2 separate regions of the Homo sapiens genome follow, and region 2 is linked to region 1. Evidence: promoter capture Hi-C in human tissues and cell types (Jung and others, 2019). All regions are on one chromosome and are shown on one strand. The core of a region is centred on a gene start or on the middle of the fragment in contact, and the rest is flanking DNA. Distances in the headings are between cores, read along the strand shown. Region 1 holds the start of FAIM2 (Fas apoptotic inhibitory molecule 2). Region 2 holds the start of LOC124902930 (a long non-coding RNA gene).

Evidence for each region. The method cuts DNA at HindIII sites, captures the fragments that hold promoters and counts their contacts. A contact is called where the count stands out against the background at its distance.
Region 2: a contact is called between a fragment that was not itself captured here and the fragment with the promoter of FAIM2 in region 1, in 7 of the 25 tissues and cell types used here (IMR-90 fibroblasts, bladder, heart left ventricle and 4 more).

What each region holds. Positions count from the first base shown.
Region 1 is chr12:49,901,614-49,906,192 of GRCh38, forward strand. It overlaps FAIM2 (Fas apoptotic inhibitory molecule 2), which reads right to left and starts at 2,287. Exons shown (of 12, transcript NM_012306.4): 1 at 2,165-2,287. The coding sequence starts at 2,179. The HindIII fragment of the contact is 14,088 bases long and covers 1-4,579 here.
Region 2 is chr12:49,943,457-49,948,035 of GRCh38, forward strand. It overlaps LOC124902930 (a long non-coding RNA gene), which reads right to left and starts at 2,251. Exons shown (of 2, transcript XR_007063302.1): 1 at 2,169-2,251. LOC105369763 (a long non-coding RNA gene) reads left to right here. Exons shown (of 5, transcript XR_944948.3): 2 at 1-1,023; 3 at 1,506-1,573; 4 at 1,932-2,859; 5 at 3,052-3,467. RefSeq lists enhancers at 1,543-2,419, 2,150-2,444, 2,420-3,295 and a silencer at 2,083-2,323. The HindIII fragment of the contact is 4,586 bases long and covers 363-4,579 here.

The DNA.
Region 1 (4,579 bases), core at 1,037-3,536:
GGGCAGGGTCTCTATGGTTCCAGAAAAGAGCCTGGCACATAGTAGATTGTTACAAATAAAAGGTTATGTCATTTAATCTTCCTGAGACTTGCTAGCTGCATTTTGACCCCTGCTTTAAAATGAGGAGAATGAGGATCACAGAGGAAGAGCGATTCATCCAAGGTCACAGAGCTGCATGTGGCCCACTGAGAGGCAGGGCCTAGGCATCATCCACTGGGATTGATCCTTCTGTTGCGCTGGAAGTGATGCAAGGAGAATGGAGATGGGAGAGAGAAGGGCAACAGAAAGGGAAGAGGAGAGGGAGAAAACAGAAAAGAAGAAGGGCCTTCAGGGTGGAGGAAGGGCAAGAGGATCCAGGCTAAGGGTCTGTTCTGGCCTCATCCTGTAGGAATCTCAGCCTCTCCCCTAAACCAGAACAGACTCACAGAGTGACCCAGTGGAAGGGGCCTCAGAAGACATCCAGTTGAGTCTCTTCCGTCACTGAACAGATGAGGAAACTGAGGCTCAAAGGGAAACGTCCCCATGGCAGGTTGGAAATGCGAGTCCATTTACACTCAGATGTGTCCCCTGCCCCCCACCCGTGGACATGTTTAGCTTTGGTGAGAGGATTTGAGCTGGGAAGGCCTGAATGAGGCAGCCAGAGAAGGAAAGACTGGGGTGGAGGGGGTGGTGTGAAATTGAAACAGCAACAAAAAGCCCGGCTCTCAGAAAATGGGATTTAGGTCTGGTTCCCAGAAGACTGTGTTAGACCTAAAGGGCCACTGAGGAAGACTGCGGACTTCCTTCTTTGCAGGGAGCATCTGGCTGAGGCAGCCTGGAGACAGGCACGCACCAGAAGACTTCTGGTTCCATCCAGGCCCAAGGACCACTGAACTGGAGCGGTCTTCTCCATCCCCCAGCAAGCCTGTGCGTGAGCTGGGGACAAGGGGCAGAGGAGGCAGAGGTCCCCCTCACACCAGGAAGGGAACAGCGCCACTAAAGGGCCTGGTGGAGGCAGGGTGGAGGTGGAAGGAGACTCAGCAGAAGGGGTGAGTTCTCCATGTTTACGGAACTGAACACTCCCCAGGCCTCCCACTGCCTCCCACTCCCCAGCCCCCCTCATCACCCGGATCTGAAGGATCATGTCCACCTAAATCGAGTTCAGCCTCCACCCTGCCACTCCGCCCCCCAGAGCCTCCTGGACCCTAATGCCCAGGCCCCCGACACACATACGGCACTCCCAAGTGAGGTGTGACCAATGGCGGGAGGTGGTATCACCCAGTGACATCATTTGAGGCCCAAAGAGCTTGCATACAGGGAGAGGAGGGTCTGAGGGTCCAGGGAAGGATGTCATTGGCTCTGAAGCTCCTCTCAAAGAGAAGAAGGGGGAGTGTAGGGGAGGTCCTTCCCCTGTTTTCTCTGCCCAATCCTTAGCAACCCAAACAGAGGGCCCGAGTACCCTCCCCCTTAGCCCCAGGCCCTAGTGGTTGTATAATTCCACAGGCTATTGATGTTACATAAGCCTACTAGGCCAGCCGAGTCTCTGCCCCAGCCCCTCCCCTACAATTCAGGCCTAAAACTGGAGAAGAGATGCTTCATCCGGACCCATCCATGCCTGGCCAAAACCAAAACAACAATTAGAGCATCTTGATGCAGAGTTGTCATAGCAAGCCCCAAGCACAGGGATGGAGCCAAGACGCCCAGATGTGGAACAATGGCAGGGAGTAGGGTGGGGGTTGTTTCCGTGGAGGGTGGGAAAGATGAGCATAAAGTGGTTGGGTTTGGGACTGGAGGGTTGGGCCAGAGGGGGTTGCCCGATAGGCACTGCCCCTCAGGGCTCACCCTGGCACACACATACCCATGCACACACATACAGTCACACCAGACGCCCGGGCTGACTCCTCACGGGGGGCCTGGGTATCTGTGAGGAGCCTTGTAATGCTGTAATGCCAAAGCAGGGGTGGCAGGGTGACAGGGGAGGAGAGGCGCGCCTGCGGGCAGGAAGAGGCCTCGGTCCATTCCTTGACACCGGCCTTTCGGTCCTCTGACTTCAGCAAGGACCACGGAGGACCTTCAAACTAGGGCCAGGGGAGGATGCTTTCGTGGTCCAGAGGGCTTGCTGAGGATGACAGGGAGCCGGGAGCCGGAGGATGGAGGATGGTGCAGGCTGGGGAGATGCCGGTACCTTTCCCTGGGTCATGGTGCCGTCTCTCGGGGAAGGGGTCCCTGAGGCCCGGGTGGCCGCTTGGGTAACCGCAGCCTGCCTGCGTCTCTTCCTTCCTCCGCGTGGGTTCTAGCAACATCCACTGCAGCCGGGCCAGGCGAGCCGGCGCGTACCATCGGCGCGGGGGGAGGAGAGGGCCGGGCCTGGGAAGATGCTGCGGAGGACGCTGCGGATTCGCGAGCCCGGGGTAAGGCGGCGGCGCACCGCCCCCTCCCGCCGCTTCCCCCCCACCCCGCCCCCCACCGCCGCCCTTAGCCCTCCCCCGGGATGAGAGAGAGTCGCGCTGCGGAGCAACCCCAGTGGATGGGTCCGCGGGGGCTGAGCGGGCGGAGGACGCGGGAACTCCGTGACACCGACCAGCTGACGCTGCCCGCGTGAAACCAGAGCCGGGCATCAGGGCCTCATCTCCACTGTCTCTGCACCTCTCTGCAGCTCCAGCTGCGCCTCTGCCTTTTCCTCCTCCCTCTTTGGATGCGGCCCTGATTTCTGTCTCCATCTCCACCTCCCCTCTCATCATCTATTTCATCATCCCTGGTAGAGGGGAAGGTCTGGAAGTCTCGCCTGTGCTGCCCGCTTCTAACAGGGCCCCTGGGCCCTGCGCTCCTGTGGGCCTGGGGCAAGCCAATAGCCACCTATCCTTGCTCCTTTTTCTCGCCTGTGAAATGCACACAGTAGGTCCCTCCCTGCCTTGGTTCACAGAGACATGGGGTGGGAGGACACCTCTTCTGTTTCTTTCAGCCCTGCTGGGACATTTCACGGGGTCTTTCTGGAGACACCGCTAGTTCTGTCTCAAAGCCTCTACAACCCCTGCCAGAGCTCTCTTCCTGCCTCCACGCTTAGCTTCCATCACCCCGTCTCCATCTTCCCCCCTTTTCCATTCCTCCCATGCCAGAGCTCGTTCTCCCCGCTTCCCCAGACGTGTCACTGGGACCCAGCCATCATCAGGCCCCGTTTTCTGTAGCTGCTGCAGTGTCACTATGGGGTTTGCAATCTCAAGAGCTGGGATCAAGTCCCAATTTAGTCACCCACTGGCCGCGTGGCCTTGGCAAGGCCCTTAACCTCTCTGAGCTGCAGCTCCTACGAAAAAGAGGCTTAGAACAGAGCTCTGTCCATCCTAGATTGACTGTCAGACGCACAGGTTATGGCCGTAAAAGCACATAAAAGACCAAGAAGTGCTGGAAGTATGTGAGGTATTATTAACTGAGGAGTCTCCTACCAGAATGTCCTGGGCTGCCCCAGAGCGAGCACCCACAAATCTGCCTAAAAGAAGTATCTGAACCTGCTAGGATGGGACGAGAAACTAAGACCTGGGACAGGTGGGGGTGGCCACTTACCTTCTGCTTCCCTCTCACTGCCCAGGGACCCACCTAAAGTCCCTGAGAAAGCAGGGCCCAGGTAGGCAGACAAATTATCAAAGTCTTTTTTTTTTTTTTTTTTTTTTTTTTTACAGAGAAAATCTTGTTCTGTTGCTCAGGCTGGAGTGCAGTGGCACAATCTTGGCTCACTGCAACCTCTGTCTTCCGGGTTCAAGTGATTCTCCTGCCTCAGCCTCCTGAGTAGCTGGGATTACAGGCGCGCACCACCACGCCCGGCTAATTTTGTATTTTTAGTAGAGACAGGGTTTCACCATGTTGGCCAGGCTGGTCTCCAACTCCTGACCTCAAGTGATCCACCCTCCTCAGCCTCCCAAAGTGCTGGGATTACAGGTGTGAGCCACCGTGCCTGGCCTAATTATCAAAGTCTTTATCCCACCCCTTTTTGCCCTTTGTCCCCCACTCCATAACCACCAATTTTGCACAAACACACTTAAGCCTGGGCCTCCGTGTCCAGAGGCTCTCTCAACCCTACAAACCCGAGCTCTTCTTCCAGCAAGCTGTGCCCTGGTCCCCAGCACTGCACCTGGAGCTCTGACCAGCTGGTCCAGGTTCTGGCCTTCCCTCCTTCTCTGCATCTGCATCCTGGAAGTGTTTTCCTTCTCCTGCTTGACAGCTTGAATGCCACCTCCTCCAGGAAGCCTCCTTCCCCCCCTAGTTGGGGTTAGATGCTCCTCTTCTGTAGTTCCCTAGCACCCTGATGTAACGCCTGTCACGTGGCGCTGTGAAGTTTCTTTGACTGACTCCCTGTTACACTCTAAGCTCCTGTAGCAGTTTTGGTGTGAGCTGGACTGAATGCAGTGCCAGGTGTGTGGAATGCACTCCATCAATTGTAGCTAGTAATATTTCCCAGACATGGCACTACGCAGAGCCTGACTTTCATCAGCCTTAGCACTTTCATGTTTGTGAATCACTCCTGTTCCTTCTCTCGCATTCACTCTGCTCCAGCCACACAGGCCTCTTGGCCATTCCTTAGACTGGGCTGAGCATGCGCTTAGCTGAG
Region 2 (4,579 bases), core at 1,406-3,905, 42 kb after region 1:
CAGACACCAGCTCTCCAGGACCAGCTGGTAAGAGCTTCTCCACTGCCCCCGAGCCCTGACAGGAGGACTCCCACAGTGTGCATGGAAGCCCAGGGAGCTCGGGGGCTACAGAGGCACCATTGGCTCTGGAGCCTGCAGCCCAGACAGCCCCCTCCAGATGTAATGGGGGAAGGAGCCAGGGACTGGGAGGAATTCAGAGGTCAGAGGAGGAGCAGTATCAGGAGATACTGCCCTCCTGCAACTCCTCCTCCCAGCTGCTCTCCCCTCCTGCTAGTGCCCACAATGGCTCCCAGCTGCCTCCTATAAGGAAGCTTTATTAGCCTGCAGCCTGTACTCCTCCACGCAGCAGAGCTGACAGGACCCCATTAGTCAGCTTATTCAACCCTTCCCCTGGTGCACAAACCCTTGCCAAGCTTTTCTGGCATTTTGCTCAGCCTGCTTGGACCCTCCAAGCAGGTAGGAACTCACTGTTTCACAAAGCAGTGTTATTAGAAAGGTTTCCCTGACCCTAGCCCCCCACATCTAATCTTTCTCAAATGTGGGCAGACTTGTTCCTGGCCCCTTCTCATTCCACCAGTGCACACATGCACATGCTCCCTCTCTCCATCCAAGCTCCAGGAATCAACCTCTACCCTGAACCAGGTCCCTGAGGACCACCACGTGGCTGCAACACAGCAGGTGTGGGGCAGGGCACAAGTGGGCTTAAGGGGGGTATAAGGGCTGGCAGTTTGCTCATTGATTCACTCAACAAACATGTACTGAGCACCTCTAAAGGGCCAGGGCCTGTGCTAGGCACTGCGGTGCCATGGTGAGCAAATCCAGAAATGGACCCTGCCCTCTAGGAGTTCACAGTCCAGAGGAGAAGCCCGATGCTGAACAGAGAATCACATCCGTGAGCAACACAAAAGGCAAGGCAAACCCTGGGCAGATGCCCCCGGGACTGTGTGTTATGGGCCTACAGGAAGCCTCTCCCAATGAAAAAGCAATTTTTCAGCCAGAACCTCCACCAGTGTCTTTCAAACTGTGAGTGGCAACCCATTTGTGGGTCATAAAATCAATTTAGTAGTTGTGACCTGAATTACTTGTTAGTGAAATAGAGAGGAATTTACAACATCACACTTAGGAAATACTGTTTTGTGAAATGTTAGTTTCAGTTATCTATCTATCTATCTGTCTGTCTGAGAGATCATGTTTATTAGTTAAGATATTAAATGTATTTCTTACTGCAGGTCTCAATCAAAAACCTCTGAAAGCCACTGGCCTAGAGTTAGAGGAAGAGTTAGCCATGAGAAATGGTGGTGACACAGGTTCCAAAAGAAGAAACAATAGGTATCAGGCTCAGAGATGAAAGGGCTAGAAGGAGGACACACCAAGTTCAAGGTCTGGCCTTTCTCGAGGGCAGTGGGGAGCCATGGGAGGTTAGCAAGATCCCATCTTCTTCATCCCTGGGCCTCACCCCATGGGCAGGAGGGAAATGGCAGGAAGTTGTCTTTGTGTCTCCCCAGGAGCCTGGACCTGTGGCCTTCCCTGCCTCCACCTGGGCCTCAACCGTCACGACCACCTGGCCTTTGAGGTAGGGTTTGGAGAAGGAAGTCAGCCTATTATCAGGAGAAGGCTTGAATTTCTATATTCATAGCTTGTTTCTGTCACTTACTAGCCTTGTGATCATGGGCAACTTGTCTAATCTCTGTCCCTCAGTTTCCTCCTTTGTAAAATAGGTCTCATAGAACTCATCCCCAAAAGTCCTTGTGAAGATTTAGTTTGTAAGCCAGATGTCTGCAGACCTCCAGTAAAAGAATATGTTTTTGGTATTAGTATGTATGTCCCAAATATTGCTTGGAATATGCTTATACAAACAAAAATCATTTGTTTTTTATCTGAAATTCAAATTTACCTGGATGTCCTGTATTTTATCTGGAAACCCTACACAGAAATCAAATGGCTCACGCTGTGTCTCAGAGCTGCAACGATCCAACGCCCTCCATCCTTCAGAGGCTGTCTGAGTCCGGGGACACAACTCCCACCCTCCTCTCCTGCCAGCCGCGGCCCGTGGCTGCTCTCTTCACTTCGTCCCGCTTCGCCCCGACTGTGGATCTACCCGCTCCCTTCTCCCTCAGTCCCCAAAGCACCAGACTCACAGGCCTGCTGTGTGACCCACTTTTACCGACCTTTCGGGGAGAGTAGAGGGCATTTGTGACTCAGCTCAGAGCAGGAAACACATCTCACGTCAACTGTCAGACAGCGCTGCTCCGAATCCCATCACAGTGCTCCAGCAGGGGGCGTCCTCACCGGCCGCGGCCACAGCCACGGCTCAACCCGGCCTAGCTCCCAGACACCCTCCTTCCACCGCCTGTTTTCCACCGTCCCCGCCTGCTCTTTCAAGCCAGCAGCAAACAACACCCTAATCCGTGTCTTTATTATTCAAAGACCTTAAGCACTCTTTCCCACCTCGTTCCCATCTTGATTATTTCAGGGAATGAATTAGGGATTCACCTTTACAATCAAAAAAGTTCTCTCAAAGCCAGGCTACTGGAGTTCTAATTCTGCCTTCCCACTTTTACTAGCTGTGAAATCTCAGGAAAGTTACTTAACCTCTCTCTGTCTCATTTTCCTCATCTTTAAAAAACAGGATGATAATATTTAGCTCCTAAGATGGTTGTGAGGATTTAAGTGAGCTGATATATCCAAGAATGTCTAGAACAGCGCGTGGCAGAATGGGCATTGCATATGGGTTTAATCTTGTAACTGCCATGTTTCACCAATTCTAAGGTGTATCTCGTTTCTCATCATAAGAGCTCTTCCGCTCGTGTGGCAGCTGGGAGTGGCCGTCATTGCCTGCGCATACCTAAACTTGGTCAGGTGAGTTCCGTGCCTTCAGCTTAATTGCTGTTTAAAATGTCTTCAAAAAGGTTACACTGTGGTTTAGCATTTAAACCCAGTTACTGTGTATGCAGAAAGGCGGGCAAACAGAAGAGTGTAGCAAGAATTTTATATTAGTGAAGCAGTTATCATTGAAGAATGACCACAGTTTCATATTTTCTTGCAAAACAGCAGCCAAGTGTTTTGTGAGACCTAAGAAAGGAAGAGCCCCATAAGTAAATGGAACTGTTGTGTTGTTTTATTACCGAGAAAAGGGCAGAATGATTGCTAGTCACACGTGAAGCAAGAAAACCCCGGCAATAAAGCTTGCAGAATGAGTGGCTGAGGCTTGAAAATAAATGGTGGAAACAATAGTGGACAATCTTTTAAAGAATGGCACATTGCCAATGCTCCTGATGGCACAGAAGGTGACACCATGCAGAAAATCAAGGCTCTGAGTCAAAGAGGGTTTCAGAAAAATTGGACTCTGAATGTGAAGAAATCTGGGGACTATTTTAGCCAATTTGTTTTGCCTATAATTTCCTTTTATGCATGCAAAAGAGCAATTCTGACTTTAAAGACTGATATCTAAATAAATCTAAAATATCTTTTTTGTGTGTGTGTCTGTGATACAGTGTCTCGCCCTTTCACCCAGGCTGGAGTGCAGTAGTGCAATCTCAGCTCACTGCAACTTCTGCCTCCCAGTCTCAAGCAATCCTCCCACATCAGCCGGACTACAGGTGCACACCACCATGCCTAGCTAATTTTTTGTGAGTATTTTTTGTAAAGATAGGGTTTCACCATGTTGCCAGACTGGTCTCAAACTCCTGGGCTCAAGTGATCCGCCCACCTTGGCCTCTCAAAGTGCTGGGATTACAGGCATGAGCCACCAAGCCCAGCCTATAAAATACGCATAACATAAAATTTACCATCTTAACTTTTTTTTTTTTTTTGAGACGGATTTTCGCTCTTGTTGCCCAGGCTGGAGTGCAGTGGCATGATCTCAGCTCACTGCAACCTCCACCTCCTGGGTTCAAGTGATTCTCCTGCCTCAGCCTCCGAGTAGCTGGGATTACAGGCATGTGCCACCACACCCAGCTAATTTTGTATTTTTAGTAGAGATGGTGTTTCTCCATGTTGGTCAGGCTGGTCTCAAACTTCCGACCTCAGGTGATCCACCCACCTCGGCCTCCCAAAGTGCTGGGATTACAGGCGTGAGCCACCACGCCTGGCCCTCATCTTAACCATTTTTAAGTGCACAGTTCAGTGGCATTAAGCACATTCACATTGCTGTGAATTCATCAGCAATTTTTGTCATGTTCTAATTAATAGTGCATGATAGATGCATAGACTTCCTAAGAAACAGTGTAGTGGCCATTGTAGAAAAAATGCAGCCATCCCTGCAGGTGAGCAGAGCTGCCAGCCAGAAGCACAGCCAAGCCCCGCCAGCTTTGATGAGAACACCTTCTTCCTCCCTGGCATGAAGGGAAAGTCAAATGCAAACACAGGCATGAGCCGTGTCATCGTTGGCCCCTTCCCCTCCTCCCAGACTAGGGGCCAGATCAGAATGTGAGTCCTGACTACTATTGTAAGCTGTGCGGCAGGTCATACTCTCTCTGGAATTCATGTTCTCATCATGGAAACTGAAATCCACAGGCAAGATGATCTCTAAGATCCCATTAGCTTCTAAATGTATGATTGTGTAACTGAACAACCACAC